Regions from separate parts of the Homo sapiens genome. Here regions 1, 2, 3, 4, 6 and 7 are each linked to region 5. The links are contacts of gene promoters, found by promoter capture Hi-C in blood cells and fetal thymus (Javierre and others, 2016). All regions are on one chromosome and are shown on one strand. The core of a region is centred on a gene start or on the middle of the fragment in contact, and the rest is flanking DNA. Distances in the headings are between cores, read along the strand shown. Region 1 overlaps TENT4B (terminal nucleotidyltransferase 4B). Region 2 overlaps NKD1 (NKD inhibitor of Wnt signaling pathway 1). Region 3 overlaps NKD1 (NKD inhibitor of Wnt signaling pathway 1). Region 4 has its middle 5.8 kb from the start of NKD1. Region 5 holds the start of BRD7 (bromodomain containing 7). Region 6 has its middle 27 kb from the start of TENT4B. Region 7 overlaps TENT4B (terminal nucleotidyltransferase 4B).

Region 1 (3,237 bases), core at 29-2,528, 210 kb after region 5:
TAATCCCAGCACTTTGGGCGGCCGAGGCAGGTAGATCACCTGATGTTGGGAGTTTGACACCAGCCTGACCAACATGGAGAAACCCCATCTCTACTAAAGATACAAAATTAGGCATGGTGGCACATGCCTGTAATCCCAGCTACTTGGGAGGCTGAGGCAGGAGAATTGCTTGAACCCGGGAGTCAGAGGTTGCAATGAGCCAAGATCGCGCCACTGCACTCCAACCTGGGCAACACAAGTGAAACTCCGTCTAAAAAAAAAAAAAAAACAGAAAGAGAGAGAGAGGGAGGGAGCGAGAGCGAGAGAGAGAGAGAAAGAGAAGCAGATATAAGCCCTAATGCAGTGCTGAAAAAAGGCATGAACATCTTGGGCTTACTATGACATGATGAACAATGGGCACTAGAGGATGGCACATACAAGAGGATACTGCCCTACGGCAGTGAAGAGCACTACATCTCAGCCCTCCAAATCTCAGCTCCCCACTAGCAGGTCCACCTATACATCCCCCTACTATCTTCTTACCCAAACCAATAGTCCTTCTGGCCCTTATTTCCAAAAACACCACAAATATTTCCCCAGTCACTCAAGTTCAAAGCTACAGTGTGATTATTAAATCCACTTAAGGAATCTGAATCATCTCCATCCTTACCCTGTAATACCTCTCACATTCATTCTCCCTTCACATCCCCATTCCCACCATCCTAGTTTAAGAAATTGTACCTTAAACCCAAGTTTCCCAACAAGGTCTTGATGTCCCCACAGCCAAATTTGTACTCCAAAACATTGTTTTGAACAAGTCATCCAAGCCTTAAAAAAGCATCTACAGATCTGGCAGTACAGCCAACAGAAACCTATCATGAGCTTGGACAAACACCAAGCACCTTCCAGAAGAAGTTTCTGGACCCAGGGCTCAAGACCAAGTTCTGCAAATTCCCTGTATTTGCTACTTCTTGCCATCCCCTCTTTCTCCATAGTGATAAACAATTAAGTCTTTCAAAAGAAAAGGGTTTATGGCTCGTTTTCATGGACAAGCAGCAGCAGGTGGACAGCATCCTAAACCATGGCCAGTTCTGGAGGGGAGCAAAGCCCAAGAGAATCAGTGGAAGCAACTTAAAACATAAAAGGCCAGGCCAGGCATGGTGGCTCATGCCTGTAATCCTGACACTTTGGGAAGCCAAGGTGGGCAGATCACTTGAGGTCAGAAGTTCGAAACCAGTCTGGCCAACATGGTGAGACCCCATCTCTACTAAAAATACAAAAATTACCTGGGCATGGTGGCGGGCGCCTGTAATCCCAGTTACTCGGGAGGCTGAGGCAGGAGAATTGCTCGAACCTGGGAGACGGAGGTTGCAGTGGGCCAAGATTGTGCCACCACACTCCAGCCTGGGCAAGAGAGCAAGACTCCCTCTCATTAATTCATTCATTCATTCATAATTAAATAAATAAATAAGGCCAGGCATGGTGGCTCACACCTGTAATCCCAACATTTTGCTAGGCGGAGGCGGGAGGATCACTTGGACCAGGAGTTGGAGACCTTCATGGGCAACATGACAAGACCCCATCTTTACAAAAAAAACCAAAATGAGCCAGGCATGGTGGCACTCGCCTGTAGTCCCAACTACTCAGGAGGCTGAGGTGGGAAGTTCACTTCAGCCTGGGAGGCCAAGGCTGCTGTGACCCATGATTATGACACTGCACTCCAGCCTGAGCGACAGAGCAAGACCCTGTCTCAAAAAAAATTAAAAAAATAAATTTAGGCCAGGCACAGTGGCTCACACCTGTAATCCCAGCACACTGGGAGGCCAAGGCATGTGGATGGCTTGAGCCCAGGCAAAGGCTGCAGTGAGCCGAGATCACACCACTGCACTCCAGCCTGGGCAACAGAGCGAGACCCTGTCTCCATAAAATTAAATTAAAATTTAAAAATAATAAAACACAAAATAAAAAAATGTTTTAAAAAGCAAACAAAATCCCTGGTCTGTGGGTACATGAAGAAGTCTGAGATGATGAGCTCAAGAGTTTTATTTTGAAGACTTTAGGATGAAATCCAATATCTTACTCTACATATTAAAGAAATGTCCATGTCATGTGTAAGAGGGAACACATAATAAAAGGAAAGTTAAACATAAGTGGGCTATACCAAGAGCATGAAGTGAGTACCTTTGAGAGTTCAGAGGAGAAACCAAAAACATCAAGGACTTAGGCAATGCAAGAGGTCAGCATTCTAAATAAATCAACCAATTTGGTGGAAGCAGAGAACACAAAAGACAGCTGCGAGAGACTATATAGCTGTCCCATGGTTCTAGTCCATTTTCACATGCTTTCTGGTCTCCTCTCCCCATCTGGACTATCAGTTCAGAGGCCAAGAACCACCACAATGTGTTAACCTATTAGCTAACTATCAGTCACATCTTAAGAATTCAGAAAACAATGGTAACAGTTTTAGTATATTTAATCTCAGAACAGCATAACATCGAGGTGCACTCTGAATTCAGATTTTTTTAAATACCTATATTAAAAATAGAAAAACTTTCTAAAGTTAAGAAATAAGGATACTGGCGAGAATGGTGGCTCATGCCTATAATCCCAGCACTCTGTGAGGCCAAGGTGGGAGGACTGCTTGAGGCCGGTTGAAGACCAGCCTAGGCAACAAATGGAGGCCCCATCTCTACAAAAAGTAAAAATAAAAAAATTAGGCAGGTGTGGTGACATGTGCCTGTAGTCCCAGCTACTCCAGGAAGCTAAGGCAGGAGGATCACTTGAGCCCAAGAGTTAGAGGATACAGTGAGCTATGATCACGTCACTCCACTCCAGCCTAGGCAGCAGAGTGAGACCCAGTCTCAAAAGAAAAAAAAGAAATCAGGATAATGAGGCCGGGCACGGTGGCTCATGCCTGTAATCCCAGTCCTTTGGGAGGCCAAGACGGGCAGATCACCTGAGGTCAGGAGTTCGAGACCAGCCTGACCAACATGAAGAAACCCCGTCTCTACTAAAAATAAAAAATTAGCCAGGCGTGGTGGCAAGCGCCTGTAATCCCAGCTACTCGGGAGGCTGAGGCAGCAGAATCGCTTGAACCTGGGAGGCAGAGGTTGCGGTGAGCTGAGATCGAGCCACTGCACTCCAGCCTGGGCAACAAGAGCGAAACTCCGTCTCAAAAAAAAAAAAAAAATCAGAATACATGAATCAAAGCAAGAATTTCTAAGCACCCAGACACTCTTAACACTCTTGGGAATTGTT
Region 2 (3,251 bases), core at 539-3,038, 210 kb before region 5:
GCGTGCGCCACTGCGCCTGGCCACAATAATGCATTTTTACCCCAATGCACACTGGGCAGCAGGCCTGGGATGGGTCTGCAGCATATGCATTGAGTAAACAAATGGTGTATTCCCAGCAGAACCACAGATAATTCGTGGATGAACATCAAGACAAAGGTAGCAGCCTTGGAACCCCAGAATCCCTGCTGTGTCACGAGAGTGCCCCAAGGTGCCATTCCAGAATGAATGAATGTGTGGGATGACCACTGAATGGCAATGTTCCTCTCCCTGCACATACACAGGGATGTCTGGAAGGTATGAGGCAACCACATTCTTTGCAAATACCTCAGTCTAAAAATGGGCACCTGCAAGATCCAGACTCCCCTGGGAGGGTCCACTTTAGGATATGTGGGAGGGGGCAGCTCTCTCTCAGGGCATTTTGAATCTCATTTTGGCTGGGGCTCTAGGCACAGACCTGAGGGACTGCTGTAGGGAGGACAGCCCTGCGAGAGTCCTTAATCATCTAACTAAAACCACGTTCAAGGCATAATTAGCAAACAGCTCCAGATTCATGATCTGAGGCCCACTGACTCTAATGGACTAATTAGGTGAGACATCCTTGGGCGGGCAATGCACTCTGGCCTTCTCAGAAACATCCCAGAGAGCTCAGCAGATCAAGGCTGGCATCTGGTCCATGAGCTGCCTTACGATGGCTGGGCAAAGAGACAAACGCATTACTGGGCAAGAACTACACACAGCTTCCAGAGATCAACAAGGCAATCCCTTCCACCCCAGCAGCCCCAAACAACCAATCCTTGCAACACTCAGATCCTGGACACAAAATCCTTTGCTCTGAGCAATCAGCAACATGCTCTCTGCCTCCTGAACCACCCTGCCCTTTCCAAATCAAGGCTAACAGCAATAAAGGGCACGCATGCCTACACACACAATTCTGCCCTCCCCAGGTCCCACTCCTCTGTAAGCTAACAGCCACTGAGAGCTGCTACAAGACAGCACCTCATCATCCTGGATCAGAAAAATAAATCACCAGCTCTGTGGAAGCCCCAAAAGTACTCAGGGCCTCAAATCCACCACAGATAGCAGACACTTGCTGTTTAGCCAGTTCTCTCCATCCGAGGTGCCTCTGAGTAAGTGGCAGGGGTCCCACAAAGCAATAGGAGCTGGCAGAAGGCAAAGCCTTAGCAAAGGGAAAGTCTGCATCTTTGGGAAGCCCTCGATGCCTCTGACATAATAGCAGGTACAGGCAGGAATGCAATAGACATGCTGAGTGAATGCAAGAGAAAGCACCCGAGAGAATGAGAGCACTCAAAACCCTGCAGCACTGTTTGCCAAAGGACTCCCTGGCCAGAGAAGCTTGGGAAACTGGTCCCTAAACTGAAGGAATCCTGAGTAATACGAAAACTCCATATTCCAGATTCACAATGCACATTAAGACAGTGAAGGCTCTGAGAATTCCTGCAGTTAAGGAACTTATTTAATGGGTAGTTGCAGCAATTGTTTCACAACACTAATTTTGCAAAGAATCTTTTTTTCCCCAGAATCTCCAGTGGGATAATATATTTAGGAAATATTGTCCCTGGTAAGCAATACATCAGTACAGGGCAGATACCGCAAGCCCCAATCCCATAGGAGCTAAGGAGCTAAGTTATTTAAATAAGTTAAATGGGGGCAGGTTTAATATTTGCATAAAAGGCATATGGAAACACTCTTCATCTCCATGAAGAAATATGCTCTAATTTTTCAGAAAACAACCATTTTGGTTCATCTTTTCTCTTCCATCTTTGATAGCAATTGTTTCCTATGAGAGAAATAGAAACATTTATTTAAAAGCAATATAGTTCTATAGAAAACCAATGTGCAAAGGCAATGATGAAAAAAACAGAGAGAAAAATGAGAAACAGGGTTGGTGGGCACTGCAGGGGCTCTGGGGGACACAGGCCCTGTCCAAGAGCACAGCCACATTCAGCTCCACTTGAATATTGCCAGGCTAAGAGGTTGATGCCAATGATATTAGCTTTTCCAATTTTTAAAAAGAAGTCAGAAATCTGGAGTTCTGAGTGAAATTCCTCATTTTTAAATGTTGGCTCAAATTGTTTAAAAAATTGAAAGGGTCAAACAAAACATTCCTGGGAGCTAGAGTCAGCTCACCAGGTTGCAATTTCTGCCAAAAATGACAGAGTAACGCTCATTCGACTGGTGCTGCCACCCGTTTCCCAAGCTTCTCTGGCCAGGGAACCCTTTGACAAGGGTTTGAGTACCCTTATTCTCTTGAGTGCTTTCTCTTGCATTCACTGAGCGTGTGTACTGCATTCCCTGCGTGTACCTGCTATTATGCCAGTTGCATTGAGGGCCTCCCAAAGACGCAGACTTTGCCTTTGCTAAGGCACCGCTCTAAGCACTGGGCCCTCGCCTCTCCTTGGGCAGGCCCTGGCATGTGTGGGAAGGGGTGAGCACACAGTGTGAGGCCAGAATGGCCAGTCCATCAAGGGGATCCATCATGGTGTCATGACAACACTCCCTAAGGTCCTTTTCAGAAATAGAATTCATTCTCAAATCAAAACTAAAAACAGAAAGCCCACCTGGAGAGGCCAGCAAAGGAAGACATAGTCCACGGGACTGAGAGAGTGCATGTGTAGCGGGTTGGGGTGCATGCTTAGTGGGTTAGAGTGCATGTGTAGCGACTAGCCGGTGGGACCAAGACAGTGCGTGTGTAGCTGGTAGCCTGTGGGACTGAGAGAGTGCATGTGTGTAGCAGGTTAGGGTGCGTGTGCAGCAGGTACCCATGGGACCAAGAGAGTGCATGTGTAGCAGGTAGTCCGTGGGACCAAAACAGTGCATGTGTGGCGAGTTAGAGTGCGTGTGTAGCAGGTAGCCCAGGAGACTAAGAGAGTGCATGCATGGCAGGTTAGAGTGCATGTGTAGCAGGCAGCCCACAGGAGTAAGACAGTGCATGTGTGGCGGGTTAGAGTGCGTGTGTAGCGGGTAGCCCGCAGGAGTAAGACAGTGCATGCGTGGCGGGTTAGAGTGCGTGTGTAGCGGGTAGCCCGCAGGAGTAAGACAGTGCATGCGTGGCGGGTTAGAGTGCGTGTGTAGCGGGTACCCCGCAGGAGTAAGACAGTGCATGCGTGGCGGGTTAGAGTGCGTGTGTAGCGGGTAGCCCGCAGGACTAAGACAGTGCATGCGTGGCGGGTTAGAGTGCGTGTGTAGTGGGTACCCCGCAGGAGTAAGACAGTGCATGCGTGGCGGGTTAG
Region 3 (3,290 bases), core at 166-2,665, 230 kb before region 5:
GAGAGCAGAGAGAGTGCACTCAGCGCTTGTCGGAGTCTCTGCCCTCCCACCCACTGCTGACCACACACACACGGCCTTCCCACCCACCACTGACCTCTCTAAGCCACTGCCCACCACACCACTGACCCCACCACACCACTGATCCTGCCCCACCACTGCCCACCACACCACTGACCCCACCACACCACTGATCCTGCCCCACCACTGCCCGCCACACCACTGAACATTGCACCACTGACTCTACCATGCCACTGCACATCGCACCACTGATCCTGCCACACCACTGCCCACCACACCACTGGCCCCACCATGCCACCACCTGCCACACTGCTGACTAGCCCAGCCACTGGCCCGCCACGCCACACAGCCGAGTGCTGATAAGAGGAGAGGCCCGAGGGCCTGTGGCGTGCCTCTGATCACCAAGCAGCTGGGGCGGCATCTGCCAGCAGTTCCTGGCCCTGGGACAGGCCCCCGGTCTGCTGCCAGGGTCTAGCACGTGTGACCTGCCGACAGGGTGGCCCTGAGCCAGGCTGCTTATGACAGGCAGCACTGTCATCTGGCCCCAAGGAAGGGTGCCCCATAGCCATAGGCCACCTCACTGTGGGGAAAGGATGTGTGCTCCTGCCCAGGGAAGGGGCTTGGGGACCCAAGAAGCCTGGAATTTCTTGCTCAGCCTCAGGAATGAAGGGCTTGAGCTTCTTGCTTTTCTGAACCTAAACGAAACAGATGAAGTAAGAGCCTCTTGATTCCTATACCCTGAGGCCTCATTTTACGGACAGGACAAGAGTGTCCATGAGCACAGGTGTGCGCGCACACACACACACACACACACACACACACACACAGAGTCCACCCATGCGGCCCTGCAGTGCCCTGGAGAAACCATCTTGCAGAAGCCATGCTCCTACCCACTCTGATCCCATCAGCCCTGGGCCTCCCACTCTCATCTCCTGGCCCCTTCTGTCCCCTTGTCCCCAAAATAGCTCTAAGAAACTTGTCACCATCCCTCTCACAGGCCAGACCGCCCACTTGGAGCCTCCCAGCCCTGGACCATCCTGTCCCCTTCACCCGGAGCGCCCTCCTCCCTCTACTGCCAGTGAAGTCTTTTGCCTCCTCCGGAGCCACTGTGGATTTCGACTTCCCACCATCCCCAACCACCAGATGAGGACATAATCAAGAGGGTCACACTGGCGGCTTCCAGAGGACTCGGTTCATTCTGAAACTCAGCAGTTCGCATGCTGCCAGGGCTGTGATCGAAAGCCTCAGTGGCCACATCTATAAAATGAGGGCACCAATCCCACCCGCCTGCCACGCAGCAGTGCACGATGATCACACCAAAGGTGGGTGTGGAAAAGCCGAGAAGGTGAGAGGGGCCATTTGGGAATGAGGGCCCAGGGTCCACAGTGCTGTCAGATAGGAAGCTGCTGAGGAGCAGCCTAGTCCGCTCCTGTGCTGTTGATAAACAAAAAGGTGCGTTTTCCAGAATGTTTCTGGAAGGCCACGCTCCACTTCAGAAATGGGAACTGGGGCGCTGTCTCCTTCAGCTGTCTGATTTTCTGGGTGATTTGAATTTTATATTTATATTCTCTCTTTTTAAACCAAGAACATTCAACCCTTTTATACTGAAAAAAATAATAATAACTTTTTCCAAAGCGGTTTTTCCATTAAAACAAATGATGTGGCTCTCCCTCCTGTTTGATGTCACCAAGTTGCTCAACAGGCACCTCAAACTTCATGTGTCCAAACCGGACGCCTGGCGGCCCCCAAACCTGTCCTCCCCAGTGCCTTCCCTGTGTACACAGGGCAGCTCCCTGCTTCCTTCACTCTGGCCAGACACCCCAGAGGCTTCCGCACATCCTGTTGGCTCTCCCTCAAAACACACCCTGAAACCAATCATTGCCACCTCCTCCACTTCTGCCACGCATTCCAGGCCACAGTCCTCTTGAATAATGACAACCATTTTCTATTCTCTGCCCTCGTCGCCACCCCAACCCCTACCCAATTCCCCAAAGTCCCACCAAAGCCCATCAAAGCCCCACCCAATTTGTCTGCCCTATCACCTCCCTCACCCCTTCTGTTCCTCCCCATTCACCCGCTCGCCCACAGCCACACAGGCGTCCTTGCTGTTTCTCCAACAGGTTCAGCTCATTCCCCATTCAGGGTCTTCACACACGCTGTTCCCTCTACCCGGAAGACTCTTCCTCTGGATAACCCCTCCCTCCTGCCCCTCCTTCAGGTTTGGGTTCATTATCACCTTGTCACCTAGGTGAGGTCTTCCCAAATCTCTTTATTTAAAACTGCAGCCCCCTCTCCCACAATCCCTTATTTATCTCTGGGGCATTCCCACCATCTGACACATTATGTATCAACGCCTGACGGCGGAGGCACTCGACCAGCGTGTGTTGAACCACCAAATGCAGCTCTGTATTTACTGACTCAGAAAAACACGCCCTGCATTTTCTTGAAAGAAAAAAGTAGTTGCCAAACAGCAGAGAAAATGTGATTACATTTCCTAACATTATCTGCACGTGTTTCCACGCGCTGTAGTAGGAGGCACACGTCTGCAGAGACGGGCACCAAAATGCTCCCAGAAATGGTGCCCGGTGCTGGATTCCAGGTCACCCAATGGTCTTCCATGAACACACATGATTACTTCTACAATCAGAAATTACAGCAAAGTGTTTTGAAGGAAAAAAAAAATGCTAAAACATACAAAAATGGGCACCCAAGTTGGTTCTAGAAAGACTCACACTCAGAAGTCTGCTAAAAGGGTCTTGGCCCTAGCAGTGGCAAGACCTACAGCATTCTGGTGAAATGGGTGGCCTCCTGATTCCAGCTGGGAGGGAAGGTGGAGACTCCAGACTTTGGTCCACCCAGACCCCATTGCTCCCTTCCACAGCCACACAGTGCACCCAGGCCACAAAGAGGCCACAGCCACACCCATGCCTGCTTCTCACTGCTCTCACTGTACATGCATAGGAAGCCAGGGGCTGTGTAATGCAGACAGCGCTTTGATTCCAGAAATGGCATGAGACCAGCTGAGCATGCAAGCCAGGCTGTCATCGGGGGCTCAGGGGGAGCAGGGTGGCACTCTCTCCTGCCCATCCCAACCAGCACACACCAAATTTTGCTGTTGCCATTCTCAGGCAACCAAAGATCTCAAAGCAAAAAGTATGGGGATCTAGAAGGCCACTGCCTGCCCCTGCAGGTCCAGTCAACAGCCCACATCAGGGGCCCGTGTCACCACAGGGTGGTCACCTGGGAAGCCAGTGAGGTCTGGGAGAGTCCGT
Region 4 (3,432 bases), core at 912-3,411, 170 kb before region 5:
GAGAAGAGAGTGATAATGGGGCCTAAGAAGGCACAGCCAGCAAGGTGGGGACTGGCCAATTCACTTTTGGGACAGTGAGCTCTAACATGCGATTGGCAGTGCTCTCTTCTTCCTCTGTTACTCCAAGCCCTCAGCAAAATCCTAGCCACTTCCTGGGTTAGTGGCACAGGACAAAATTAAGGAATCAGAAAGATGACTCCTACAGGTAATTAATGGGGCCAACAGCAATCTTCACAGTGGAGATACCCTGCAGGAGAAAAGATGGGAGCCAGAGGCAGCCAGGAGGCCTCAGGCCTTAGATATGAGATGGAGGAGGCTGGGCTTCCCCAAGAACTAGGGCTGGGGTCTCCAAGCCATTCTGTTTGGGTACTAAAGGCAGAGGGAACAGCACATGTAAAGGCCCTGAAGTGGAGACTGCCATGGATGTTTTGGAAACAGCAAAGAGGCCCCTGGCTCTGGAGCAGAGAGAGCATGGTTTGGGAGTAGAGGGGAGAAGATGAGGTTGGAGATGACTGGGCCAAAAGACTGCTGCTTGAGTACAGTCTGGATGTGGGGTTGAATTGAATTGAATTTGTGTACCACCAACTCCTCCTGGGTTCAGGATGTTTGAGCAAGTTTAGAGCACAGGCTTCCCAGGTGAGCCTGGAGGAGAGGGAAAGCCAGCCCAGCCTCCCCATCTCCTTGGCAGGTGCCTTGTTCTCCTCCCAGCCCTGCCTCTCTGCTCTTCTTCACACTGGGCAGAGAAGCTATATTAGTCCGTTCTCAGGCTGCTACAAGAACATACCGGAACTGGGCAATTTATAAAGGAAAGAGGTTTAATTGACTCACAGTTCTACATGGCTGGGGAGGCCTCAGGAAACTTACAATCATGACAGAAGGAGAAGCAAACACGTCCCTCTTCACATAGCAGCAGGAGAGAGAGGTGCCGAGCAAAGGGGAAAAGCCCCTTATAAAACCATCAGATCCTGTGAGAACTCACTATCACAAGAACAGCATGGGATTAACTGCCCTCATGATTCAATTACCTCCACCTGATCCTGCCCTTGACATATGGGGATCATTACAACTCAAGGTGAGATTTGGGTGGGAACACAGAGCCAAACCATATCAGAAGCCTTTCTAGTCACAGTACCAGTCTTTGACTATTCCCAGACTTTGTTAACAAAAGAGCAAAAGAAGCCCCTATCTTTTTAAGCCTTTGTTTTTCAGTTACATGCAGCCAACCAGACCACCACACAGCCTCTCCACCTATAAAATAGAAGGAAGGGTCCAGAAGATTAGCATTTCCCGTAATGGGTTCCCCCGACCACTGGTTTGTGAGATGCTATTATTATGTGCAAGAAAGGACTCCATGAGAAACTTTGGGCAGCCCTAGCTTAGCCAAAAGAAGACAAGTTTTTTCCTGCAGGACTTGTCAGAGCTTTCATTGAGTAGCCAAGCTTTGTGATTCTCTAAATGGAGAGCATCGTCATAAGCAGGGTTTCTTAAACTCACCAGACCAGGAAACCATTTCTGGAAAACAAGTTCATGGAACATGCTTTGGAAAATACTGGACCAGATGACTTTTAAGGTTTCTTCCCATCTGAGATTCCAACTACTGACTCCAGGAGCCTAGACTGGGAGGGTGATAGGAAGGAAAGCTCAGTGAGGGGAGAGCCAGTGTGGAAAGGTTCCCTGAAGGAGACCATCTGCAAGTGTTGATGGTGTGTGTTTCATGTGTTTTTGGACATATTTGTCCACTTATAGCCCTCTGTAAGTATTCAGCAAATGAACACTTACTATGCAAGTGCCTCCCATTGGTACACAGTTCTTAAGGCCACAGCTCAAGGAGTGAAGGAAAAGTGGTCACTATAGCAAAGCTCATAGTTAATTTTCCTGTATCACCTGCCTTCCCTTCCAGCTTAGCTTCCTCCTCCTCTTCCTTCTTCCATGGCACAGAACACAGCTTCAAGGTGGCCCCTGCCACCACGTTGGTAACACCTGACTCCTTCACCCCTTAGCCAGAGCTGACTGGATGCCTGACCCATTGGCCCAACCCATCAGGATCTCTTTGCAGAATCTGAATGGAGAGGCCAGGGGCCTGCAGTCCACTTCCTGGTGGTCTCTACAGCTGTAGAGCTCCATAGTCCCAGGGGTTGGAGCAGCTTCTTGGGGTCGCTGTGGGCTGAAAAATAAGCAGGAAGAAGCAGGAGTAAGAACCATTAGGGGAAAGCAATGATAGTAAACCCCATGGAGAGAGAGACACAGACAGACTGGTCCCTGACTAACTGTATATGCTGACCTTGGATCCCTCCCTGTAAGACTCTTAATCCCCCTTTCTTGAGCTAGGGTCAAATAGCCTAGAGGAGGGCTCCCTGGAATTTAATGTGCATATGAATTCACCGGGATCTTGTTGAGATGCAGTGTGAGTGGAGCCTGAGAGTCATTTCTCACCAGCTCCCAGGTGAGGCTGATGGTGCTGGTGTATAGACCACACACAGTTGGAGGCTCTAGAAAGTTAAGCCTTCTCAGAAGCAACCAAGGTTACATAGCTTGCCCTTGCCTCGCATAAGCAGCCATGCTGGGGAGGAGATGGAGAGGCCAAAGTCAGGGAGGAGGCAACCAAGAAATAAAGGTGGGTGCTTCTCTTTTATTTATCATGTCATTCAGTGAAGATTTGTTGGGCGCCTAATTTACATCAGGCTCTTGTGTCCACAAAACAGACAAAAATGCCATCCTCATGAAGTTTATATTCTCATAGAGGAAGACAGACAATAAATACATAAGTCAGTGAAATATGTGGTGTGTCTATGGGAGAAAAAATTCAAGTGATAAAGAGAAAGAAAAAATACCAGGGCAGGAGCTAATGATTTTAGATAGACAGGTCAGAGAGGATAAGCTTTGTGCAAAGACTTGAAAATGAGGAAGAAACAGAGGGAACAGCATGTGCAAAGGGCCTGAGGTAAGGATATGCCAGGAATGTTTTGGAAACAGCAAAGAGGCCCCCGGCTCTGGAGCAGAGAGACCACAGTTTGGGAGTATTGGGGAGAAGATGAGGTTGGAGGTGACGGGGACAGATCATGAGACCCTTATAGGTCTCATCAAAAACTTCAGCTTTCCTGGAGAAAGACAGGAGTTACTAGAAGAGAGTTGTGGCTGGGCATGGTGGCTCATGCCTGTAATCCCAGCACTTTGGGAAGCTGAGGTGGGTTGATCCCTTGCAACCAGAAGATTGAGGCCAGCCTGGGTAACATGACAAAATCCTGTCTCCACAAAAAATAATTTTAAAAAGTAGCCAGGTATGGTGATGCATGTCTGTATTCCAAGCTACTAGGGAGGCTGAGGTGGGAGGATTGCTGGAGCCCAGGAGGCAGAGGTTGCAGTGAGCTGAGACTGCACCACTGCACTCAAGCCTGGGCAACAGAGTGAGACCCTGTCTCAAAAAAAGAGAGA
Region 5 (3,328 bases), core at 672-3,171:
TGCCAGGCATGGTATTAGTGCTGAGAATTTAAAACTAGATGAATTTGGGCTTCCACTTCCAGGAACATTTTTCTGGGAGGTGTTTTCTGCTACGTACTCTTATTCACTTTCCATTGATGTGACCACTTTGTGACCTATGTAGAATCACTCTTGAGAGGGTAGGGAAATTACTAACTTGATAGTATGGATGAGTTCACCAGACCTTTTTCCTCTGAGGGGCATTTGGACAGTAGTAGTCACTGTGCTAGGCACTGTAAGTACCAAGGAGGTACCCAGGGTAATGAGGAGCAGACAGGTAAACCCACAGGTTGAGCCTGGAGCAAGGCAATGCCACAATAGAGGCCAGACCCACAGTGGGAGTTGGCATAGTGGTTCTTAAAGCAAAATAAGTTACAGACAGTGGATGAAAAGCTGAAACCAAGCTTTGCCCTATGCTTAGGGGGCCTAGGGGGCCTAGCTGGCTTGATTTCAGAGCAGCAGAAGGTCTCTTCCCCAACACAACCCCTCTTCCCACACCCTGATCTCTGCCTCACGGACACCAGAGAGGCTTGTTACAGGGAAATAATAGACACACACTTTTAGCTTTCATGAAAAAGCAACTCTCTTCATTAGAAGAACCTCATCTTCCCTGGCTAACCATAGAAGTCTGGCAGGAGCTGCCAATCACAGACTCCACTTCTCTTGGCCAAGGGGGTGAGGGGGTAGATTTGGCATCCAGGCCGAATCAATCTCCCATCCCCTGTCCCATAAAACATGTGACACAAGCCAAGCCAATCAGAGTCCTTCCCTGGGACTGTTTTCCAGGTGAAGCTGACAGGAAGAGATCTTTTTCCCAGTTGGTCAGGACACTATAAAGAAGAGGCCTCAGAAGCAGATGGTGGCCATGTTTCCAGCCATATAGGAAAGAAGGGGGGAGATGGAGACCGATATACAGAGAGACAAGAGAGAGAGCGAGCTGGCATGCCAGTCAACAGCATTACATCCTTGGTTCCTGTCTTCCCTCTGGCAAGCTTTATTCTTGCCCTTTCTAGACATGTAAACCAATAAATCCCTTTTTATTTACTTGAAATAATTCAAATTGGTTTCTATTAGTTGCCAACAATAGGGTCCTAAAATATAAGCCTATAATTTCACCACTGAAGTTCAAGGTAAAGCTACAAATCTTCCTGGGAGAGGTGATTCATGGGTCTAAATTGTTACTAAAGTATAAATGACTGATAACAGATCCTTTCTTAAGAGGAGACTATAATTACGAGCTTATCTGAAAACAGACAAAGCACCATACAGCTAGAAGTAAAGACAGTCAAAACGTCTGGTAACCTTCACCTATCAGCACATAAGTTTTTTTTAAGATTAGAATCTTCAGTCACCAATGTGCTGAGTTTGCTGGGTCTGGCACCCAGTATGGGGTTCAGTCAATATCGTAAAAGGGAAGAAACAGAAGCAAGGGAAAGTGGAAAGAAAGGAAGAGTGGGGGAAGGAGGAAGGGGAAAAAAAGAAAAGAAAAAAAGAGGGAAGGAGACGGGAAGAGGAGAAGGAAGGGTGATGAGGGAGGAAGAAAAGAGAGAAGGAAGGCTTGAAGGGAGGCAGTAAGGAGGGAAGAAAGAAAGGAAGGAAGGAGGAAGGAAGGGAAGAAGGGAAAGAGAAAGAAAGAGAGGGAGGGAGTAAAAAGAAGGGAGGGAAGTGGAGACGGAGGGAGAGACACACAGAGACAGAGACAAGACAGACAAATTGAGGGGAAAGGGAGGAAGGAAGAAAGACGAGAGTCTGAGCGGTGGATCCCGCCCCGGCCCCGCCCTCGGCCCCGCCCCCGGCCCGCGAGCTGCAGCACCACCTCCGGTCGCCAGGGGCCGCCACCCGCAGCCGCCGGCACCCTGTGCGCGCGGCGGGCCTTCTTTCCCGCCTCTGCGCCGGCCGCGCGCCCCCCCCGCCGCCGCTCTCGGGCTCCGGCCGGGTCTCGCGCGCCGTCTTCTCGAGAGGGGCATCGCGCCGCCCGGCGCGCGCCGCCCCCCTGCCTCGCGGCGCGGGGTCTCGCGGGCCCCGCTCCCGCCCTCCGCTCGCCTGGCCCGGACCGGAAGCGGCGCCGCACGGCCTGGGCCTGGCGCGGGGGGCGGGCACCGGGGCCCGGTCGGACATGGGCAAGAAGCACAAGAAGCACAAGTCGGACAAACACCTCTACGAGGGTGAGGAGGGGGCCGGGGTGCGGGCGGCGGGCCCTCGGCGGCTCTGCCGGGCTTCCGCTCTTTCCCAGTGGCTCCGGGGCGGCCCGGGGCCCTTCCTTCCCACGGCAGGCCCAGGCCGGCGAAGGGGGCGCGTCCTGCCGGAGGCCGCGCTGCCCCCCGTGCGGCCGCGGCATTCGAACCCGGGTCCCCCTGGTCCGGTGGGTCTCTGGTGGGGAGACGTGAGGCGGGCCCGGGAGGCCTGGGAGCGTTCGGGGCGGGCGGCGCCGCCGCACCCCCGGGCCGGGGTCCGTCATTCAACAGGTGCTTCGCGGAGCGCCCAAAGCCGCCTCGGGCTTGCTGCGCCTTGGCGCTCTGCATCCTTAGCACTCCCTGGAGAGCCCCGATTTTAATCGACGCGCTTTCCTTTCTTTTCTTTTCTTTTTTTAAGAGTATGTAGAGAAGCCCTTGAAGCTGGTCCTCAAAGTAGGAGGGAACGAAGTCACCGAACTCTCCACGGGCAGCTCGGGGCACGACTCCAGCCTCTTCGAAGACAAAAACGATCATGACAAACACAAGGACAGAAAGCGGAAAAAGAGAAAGAAAGGAGAGAAGCAGATTCCAGGGGAAGAAAAGGGGAGAAAACGGAGAAGAGTTAAGGTACAAGTGGTTACATTGCTTTGGCTTTGCGGACGGCACTGCCTCTTCCAGGTGCCAACCTCATTTTATTTTCTTTGTATCTGGGGAAAACAAACGCCTCTAAGATCTGGCTCGTTTGAGGAGGAGCAGGACAGAATAGAGACATGAATCATCTATGAGTTTCAGCAAGTCGTTTTTGGATTATACTCTTAGGCAATTGTACTCGCACATCAGGTGAGGAAGCAGCTAAGTCCAAATTTTGAGGAGCTGCTTCAAAGAATGGTTTTTCCATCTAGGCAGGGTAAAAAGTCATGCTCAAGAAAGCCTCAGTGTTCAAGGATTGTCAAAAATAGTCATTTCAGAAGCGAGTGGGATCTACTGGGGTTTAAAGTTTGTTCTGAAATAAATATTATAATGCCAAATCTGTAATGAGCAACTTTAAATCTTTTAAAACAGTGTTGTAGTGTGTTGAGAAAATTTGGTCAGAAACCTGTAATGGAGATTGATATTCTTAACCATTTGCATTTAAC
Region 6 (3,034 bases), core at 338-2,837, 240 kb after region 5:
ACTATGTTAGTCAGGCTGGTCTCAAACTCCTGAGCTCAAGTGATCAGCCCGCCTTGGCCTCCCCAAGTGCTGGGGTTACAGGCATGAGTCACTGCGCCTGGCTGATTAAATATTTTTTAAAAGAGATTTATTTTAATTTACATACTGTGACATTCACCCATCTTAAGTGTACAATTCAATAATTTTTAGTGAATGTACAGAGCTGTGCAATCATCACCACATTCCAACTTTAAAATACCTCCGTCCCCAGAAAGATCTTTAAGGTTCATTTGCAGTCACTCCTTTACCCACTTGAGCCCTAGGCAGCCACTAATCTACTTTCTATCTTGATAGCTTTGCCTTTTCTGGGTAACTCTGTGTTGAGTGGTGTTTCTATAGAACTTGACCATGGCAGGCACTAAGGCCCCCAAAAAGAATTGGTAGCTCAGCCTAATGAGAGTGGAAAAAACCCACTCCCAGAATGAGTTCATTTTCTCAAATTTTTGGACTGGTCTTTAACAAATTCAGACATTTTTCAGATTCAGGTTTTCACAAGGCCATGGAGGCAGCTCCTCCCATCCTCCCATCATCTTTCTTGTTACTAGAGGAAGTAGCGCCCTTGGCCAGAGGTACGCAAAGCAAGTGTTGGTCTCTGGGCGGCCACTCTAGTGGAGAGAAAGCCCAGAAACTCAAACAAGATGCAACACCCTAGCAGTGCTGTGCATTTTACGTTTTTTTTTTTTTTTTTTTTTTTTTTTTTTGAGATGGAGTCTCGCTCCGTCACTCAGGCTGGAGTGCAGTGGAATGATCTCGGCTCACTGCAACCTCTGCCTCCTGGGTTCACATCATTCTTCTGCCTCAGCCTCCCATATAGCTGGGATTACAGGTGCCCTCAACCACGCCCAGCTAATTTTTTGTATTTTTAGTAGAGATGGAGTTTCACCATGTTGGCCAGGCTGGTCTTGAACTCTGACCTCAGCCTCCCAAAGTGCTGGGATTACAAGTGTGAGCCACCGTGCCTGGCCCCATGTTACCCTTTCTTTTTAACTCACCCCTGCAATGTAGTCTATGGATAAAGGAGAAGGTGCTCACTGACATTTGCTACCTCTTCTGTCATTAAACAATCCAACCATGCAAATTTCTGTTTTGAAAGACTAAGGCTCTTTTTTTTTTTTTTTTTTTTTTGAGACAGAGTCTCGCTCTGTTGCCAGGCTGGATTGCAGTGGCACAATCTTAGCTCACTGCAACCTCCGGCTCCCTAGTTCAAGTGATTCTCTTGCCTCAGCCTCCCAAGTAGCTGGGATTACAGGCACACGCCACCACGCCCAGCCAATTTTTGTATTTTTAGTAGAGATGGGGTTTTACCATGTTAGCCAGCATGGTCTTGATCTCCTGACCTCGTGATCTGCCCACCGCGGCCTCCCAAAGTGCTGAGATTACAGGTGTGAACCACCGCATCCGGCGGACAAAGGCTCTTCTGTCAGAATAGCATGAAAAAAAGAAAAGAAATAAAAAGACAAAGGCCCTTACTAAATGTCAACACTGTACTCCAGAATGTTCTCTTAGCAGCGCCTACATAGCTTGAAACACAGTCCAGGCCTTCTCGAAAAAGAGTTACTTGGTCACAAAAGAAGTTTCCAAGGCTCTTTTCTAGAACCCAGTTTTACTATTGTTCCTGTTTTGTTTTGACAGTCACCTTCTGCTTTGTGCCTAGGAGACAAGTATGACCTTCCTGATCCTCCTACATTCAAAAAACCCCAGACCTTCCGTATTATATCTCCAGGACATGCTGGAAGCCTCTACCCCAACCCTACTTGCCTAGTTCTTGTCTAGGCTACTGCATATCTTTCCAACTGTTGGTCTGGAATCATCCACATCAACGCTTGGAACCTCCTCCGCCTGTAATCCCAACATTTTGCGAGGCCAAGGCTGGGGAATCTCTTGAGCCCAGGAAATCGAGGCTTCAGTGAGCTGTGTTCACACCACTGCACTGCAGTGTGGATGACAGAGCAGAGCAAGACCCTGTCTCCAAAAAAAAAAAAAAAAAAAAAAAAGAATGACAACGTCACTTTGCTTACAGCACATAATAAAATCAAACTCTAAGCAGGATGGTAGGCATGGAAGTCAGAATCCGCTAACAAGTGTAAGTAACAATTTGTCTCCCAGAAAAAATACAAAAAGAAACAAATCAAACTCCAGATTTTTTTTCTGTTCGAACCCATTTCTCTCACTGTCTTCTGCATTTCAATAAATGATGACCCCATCCTTCAAGTGACTCAGGCCAAAATCCTTGGCATCACCCTTAACGTTTTCTTCACTCTCACCACACATCCAACCTACCATTGATGCTGCAGGCTCTTCCTTTAGATGACAGCTGCCTACTTTCCAGGAAATGCACCACTTGGGTCCAAACTACTAGTGTTTCTCGCTGAAATGATTAAGACTGGTTTCTCTCCTTCCAGCCATGCCTCTCATCCATCTGTTCTTATCCCAGGATCAAAGTGATCCTTTGCAATGGAAAGCCAGTGTTTCTCCTCTGCCCCATGTTTCCTAATGTCTTTGTATCACACTCAGATCCTTAACACGGCTGCAAGGCCCTATCTGGTCCAACCCCATCTCCTCTCTAGCCTTGCATCCTGCTACTGGATCACTGTGCTGCAGCCACATGGGTCTCTGCATTGTTACAGAACCCTCCAGCATGCTCACTTGGCAGGGCCTGTGCACATGCTCATTGGAGGCTGGTGCCTCTTTTCCCAGTAATCTCTGTGCCTTCCTCATTTCCTTCAGGTCTCTGCTCAAATGTTGCTGCCCCAGAGGCCTTCCCTGACTGCTGTCTTCTACAGTAACACTCCTTTACATCTGCTCCATTTACCCAAATTTACTGTTTGGCTTTAGCACTTATTTTTAGCACCCAGCATGCACTTATTTGCCTATTCATTGGTTGTCTGTTTCCCCTACTAGAACGTAAGCTCCATGGGAACAGGAGCTTGGTTTGCAAGGCAGACTGACTTTAAGATAGTCTCCTCTCCCATGATCCCCACTTCCTGCTGCTCAA
Region 7 (3,184 bases), core at 339-2,838, 180 kb after region 5:
TCTTAATAAATATAATTATCTGGTTATTTTTTGATGCAAATGTAGAAAAACACTGTATTTTTATAGAAATGCTGAATTACATCCTGGAATTGCATTAGGGCACTACTTCATGTTATGCACAGAAGATAAATAAGATGTGTTATATACAGAGGAGTCCACACTAACAAGAAATGCACCACATGCTGGGACATTTCAGAGAGAATAGAGGGGATATCCTCACAGAGACAGCCCAGGGCCTCAGTTCATGTTTTAGTCATTTGCCCCCAGACCTGTCTGGAGAGTTGGAGGTTCTTTCCTCAAAAAACATTAGGAAAAAGTAGAAACAAGTGCCAAAAGCATTTATAATCAAAGGGACATGAAGGTTCTTTCTTTGCAGTTTTATCTTGCCATAACGCACTTGCAATATTTTAAAATCAAACTGGCACAGTCTCACACTTTAAATAGGGACAACTCAGTTGAGAATTTAACAGTGAGAAGACAAGGTACTCCAGGGTCATATAAACCACATTAAAAAAAACTAATGTGGTAAAAGCCAACTTGACAGAATTTTGACAGCACAATTATTTTTAAATACAAACATCCTATCTCTAAGATTAAGAATAAAAGCTTTTATTTTGTTTGTATTCAATGGAAACAGCCTTCCTACAAGCAATAAGAAAAGCTGAAGTTACAATGGAATTAAGAAAAAGATACGGATCACCAGCTAAAACTAAGAAATCCTAAGATTCCTAGATCTACCACGCAGGGAAGCAGAGGCAACACAGAGTAGACAACAGTGAGATGTCCTATAAATGGTTACTATGGGAAAAGGGAGGGTGGGGAGCAGAACAAGCTCTGCCTGCCAAACCAGAAATGTCAGCATGTATCTTGTTTTGTTTTTTAAAAACCCAAGGTATCAGGGTCTTGCTATGTTGCCCAGGCTGGAGCACAATGGCTATTCACAGGCACAATCACAGCTCACTACAGCCCTCAAAGTCCTGTGCTCAAGCAATCCTCCTGCCTCAGCCTCCCTAGTAGCTGGGAATACAGGCACAGGCCACAGTACCCAAGTTGTTTAAAACTGGATGAAAAAATTAAATGTACAAGCAGGATAGGGAATAAAGCAATGTTTCATAATATTGAGACATGTCGTAAACTGGGTCTGCTAACACTTCTCAAGGTCTATACATTCTCTATAAGAATTTTTAAATGCTGTGTTTTCATTTCAAAATTACACTAAAACATTAGTATAAGCCTGTTCTGGATCATCGAGATGCTTCCCTAGAAACACAGAGCTGCCCAGAGATTTCACAGCCCACGTGTGCTGTTGTGTTTACCATCAGGCTAAGGCCAAACAATACAATTTTAACTAATTTGTACTAACAATCAAGAACGGAGTAAGACCTGATCCCTGCATAATATACATGCCAAGCGAAGGGCAGAAGGCACCCCTCCAAGGTTTTATAGTTCTCAGAGAAAAGTGATGAGGGAACTGAGTTACCTCATGGCAAGGTAACAGAAGCCATTGCCAAAGCCTCCAAATCTGCCACGGCCTCCAAATCTGCCACAGCAACAATACCATATTCACAATGAGAGGAGCAACTGGAATAAACATCATCGGCTCCATAAAAGTAATTTTAATTTTACTGATTTTGTCATTTTATCTGTCTTTAACTTGTAAACTTATTTTCTTTTTATAATCTGTAAGCAGGCCAGGTGTAGTGGTTCACACCTGTCATCTCAGCACTGCAGGCCAAGGTGAGAGGAACTGCTTGAGCCCAGGAGTTCAAGACCAGCCTGGACAACAGAGTAAGCTGCTGTCTCAATTTTTAAAAAATAAAGAAAGAAAAGAATGCATACAAGTTTAAATATTTTATGCATCAGAGGTTTTTTTTTCTTCTTTTTTTAAAATATAGAGATGGGGTCTTGCTGCTATATTGCCCAGGCTGGTCTCAAACTCCTCGGCTCAAGGAATCCTCCCACCTTGACCTCTCAAAGTGCTGCAATTACAAGCATGAGCCACCGTGCCAGGCCTTATGTGCATTCCTAAGTAACATAATAATAAAAATAACTTCAGCTAGGGTACCAAGACCATTCACAGTTGAGAAAGGATAGTCTTTTCAACAAATAGTGATGGGAAAACTGGATATCCACAGGCAAAAGACTCAAGTTTGACTTTTACCCCCCACCCCGCACGATGGAGTCTCGCTCTGTCGCCCAGGCTGGAGTGCAGTGGCACAATCTCGGCTCACTGCAACCTCCGCCTCCTGTGTTCAAGCAATTCTCCTGCCTCAGCCTCCCAAGTAGCTGGGACCACAGGTATGCATCACCATGCCTGGCTAATTTTTGTATTTTTAGTAGAGACAGGGTTTCGGCATGTTGGCCAGGCTGGTCTCAAACTCCTGACCTCAGGTGATCCATCCGCCTCGGCCTCCCCAAGTAGTGGGATTACAGGCGTGAGCCACTGCGCCCAGAGCCTCAAGTGTGACTCTCAAACTGTATACAAAAATTAACTCAAAATGGATCAAAGACCTAAACTTAGGAGCTAAAATCATAAAACTGCAGAAAGAAAACACTGAGGGAAAGCTTCATGACACTGCATTTGGCAATGGTCTCTTAGATATATGACACCAAATGTACAGGTAACAAGATAAAAAATAAACTTCATCAAAATTGAAAGCTTTTGTGCATCAAAGGACACTATCAAGAGAGTAAAGGCCATGTGCAGGGGCTTACACCTATAATCTCAGCACTCTGAGAAGCCGAGGTAGGAGGATTGCTTGAAGCCAGGAGTTCAAGACCAGCCTGGGCAACAAAGTGAGACCTTATCCCTTCAAAAAATAAAAAAATTAAAAATTAAAAAAAGAAAAATAAATGAAAATAAAAATTAAAAAATTGGCAGAGTGCAGTGGCCCACGCCTACAATCCTAGCACTTTGGGAGGCCAAGGCAGGTGCCACTTGAGGTCAGGCAAGATGGTGCCACTGTTCTCCAGCCTGGGCAACAGAGTGAGATTCCGTCTCAAAAAAAAAAGTGCAAAGGACCTTATGGGGAGAGACTGGAGCCCTTGAACTTTGCTTGTGGGAAGGTAAAATGATTTAGCTATGGTGGAAAAGTCTGGCCATCCCTCAAAGAGTTAAACATAGAATTATCATATGATCCAGCAATTCCACTCCTAGGTATGGAACCAAAAGAACTGAAATCAG

What was found. Contacts are between HindIII fragments. The CHiCAGO score rates a contact against its expected background, and 5 or more counts as called.
Region 1: a fragment that was not itself captured here is called in contact with the fragment with the promoter of BRD7 in region 5 in 16 of 17 cell types (naive CD8 T cells, neutrophils, total CD4 T cells and 13 more); the score reaches 34.4 in naive CD8 T cells.
Region 2: a contact is called between a fragment that was not itself captured here and the fragment with the promoter of BRD7 in region 5, in 11 of 17 cell types (total CD4 T cells, naive CD4 T cells, naive CD8 T cells and 8 more). The highest score is 20.0, in total CD4 T cells.
Region 3: a contact is called between a fragment that was not itself captured here and the fragment with the promoter of BRD7 in region 5, in 8 of 17 cell types (naive CD4 T cells, naive CD8 T cells, activated CD4 T cells and 5 more). The highest score is 17.2, in naive CD4 T cells.
Region 4: a contact is called between a fragment that was not itself captured here and the fragment with the promoter of BRD7 in region 5, in 15 of 17 cell types (naive CD8 T cells, non-activated CD4 T cells, total CD8 T cells and 12 more). The highest score is 31.9, in naive CD8 T cells.
Region 6: a fragment that was not itself captured here is called in contact with the fragment with the promoter of BRD7 in region 5 in 2 of 17 cell types (naive CD8 T cells and total CD8 T cells); the score reaches 6.7 in naive CD8 T cells.
Region 7: a fragment that was not itself captured here is called in contact with the fragment with the promoter of BRD7 in region 5 in 11 of 17 cell types (naive CD8 T cells, total CD8 T cells, total CD4 T cells and 8 more); the score reaches 21.7 in naive CD8 T cells.

The regions. Positions count from the first base shown.
Region 1 is chr16:50,156,278-50,159,514 of GRCh38, reverse strand. All of the region lies in intron 1 of TENT4B (terminal nucleotidyltransferase 4B), which reads right to left. Among named protein-coding and RNA genes, the nearest start is that of TENT4B, 4.6 kb to the right of the region's middle. The HindIII fragment of the contact is 5,097 bases long and covers 1-3,237 here.
Region 2 is chr16:50,579,498-50,582,748 of GRCh38, reverse strand. All of the region lies in intron 3 of NKD1 (NKD inhibitor of Wnt signaling pathway 1), which reads right to left. Among named protein-coding and RNA genes, the nearest start is that of NKD1-AS1, 33 kb to the left of the region's middle. The HindIII fragment of the contact is 865 bases long and covers 1,356-2,220 here.
Region 3 is chr16:50,595,785-50,599,074 of GRCh38, reverse strand. The region is part of intron 3 of NKD1 (NKD inhibitor of Wnt signaling pathway 1); the gene reads right to left. Among named protein-coding and RNA genes, the nearest start is that of NKD1-AS1, 16 kb to the left of the region's middle. RefSeq lists an enhancer at 595-1,095. The HindIII fragment of the contact is 7,124 bases long and covers 1-3,290 here.
Region 4 is chr16:50,540,890-50,544,321 of GRCh38, reverse strand. No RefSeq gene overlaps it. Among named protein-coding and RNA genes, the nearest start is that of NKD1, 5.8 kb to the left of the region's middle. The HindIII fragment of the contact is 1,439 bases long and covers 1,442-2,880 here.
Region 5 is chr16:50,367,581-50,370,908 of GRCh38, reverse strand. BRD7 (bromodomain containing 7) reads left to right here and starts at 1,921. Exons shown (of 17, transcript NM_013263.5): 1 at 1,921-2,183; 2 at 2,611-2,819. The coding sequence starts at 2,135. RefSeq lists silencers at 1,743-1,992, 2,023-2,532. The HindIII fragment of the contact is 8,339 bases long and covers 1,013-3,328 here.
Region 6 is chr16:50,124,989-50,128,022 of GRCh38, reverse strand. No RefSeq gene overlaps it. Among named protein-coding and RNA genes, the nearest start is that of TENT4B, 27 kb to the left of the region's middle. The HindIII fragment of the contact is 7,368 bases long and covers 1-3,034 here.
Region 7 is chr16:50,186,572-50,189,755 of GRCh38, reverse strand. The region is part of intron 1 of TENT4B (terminal nucleotidyltransferase 4B); the gene reads right to left. Among named protein-coding and RNA genes, the nearest start is that of TENT4B, 35 kb to the right of the region's middle. The HindIII fragment of the contact is 1,959 bases long and covers 609-2,567 here.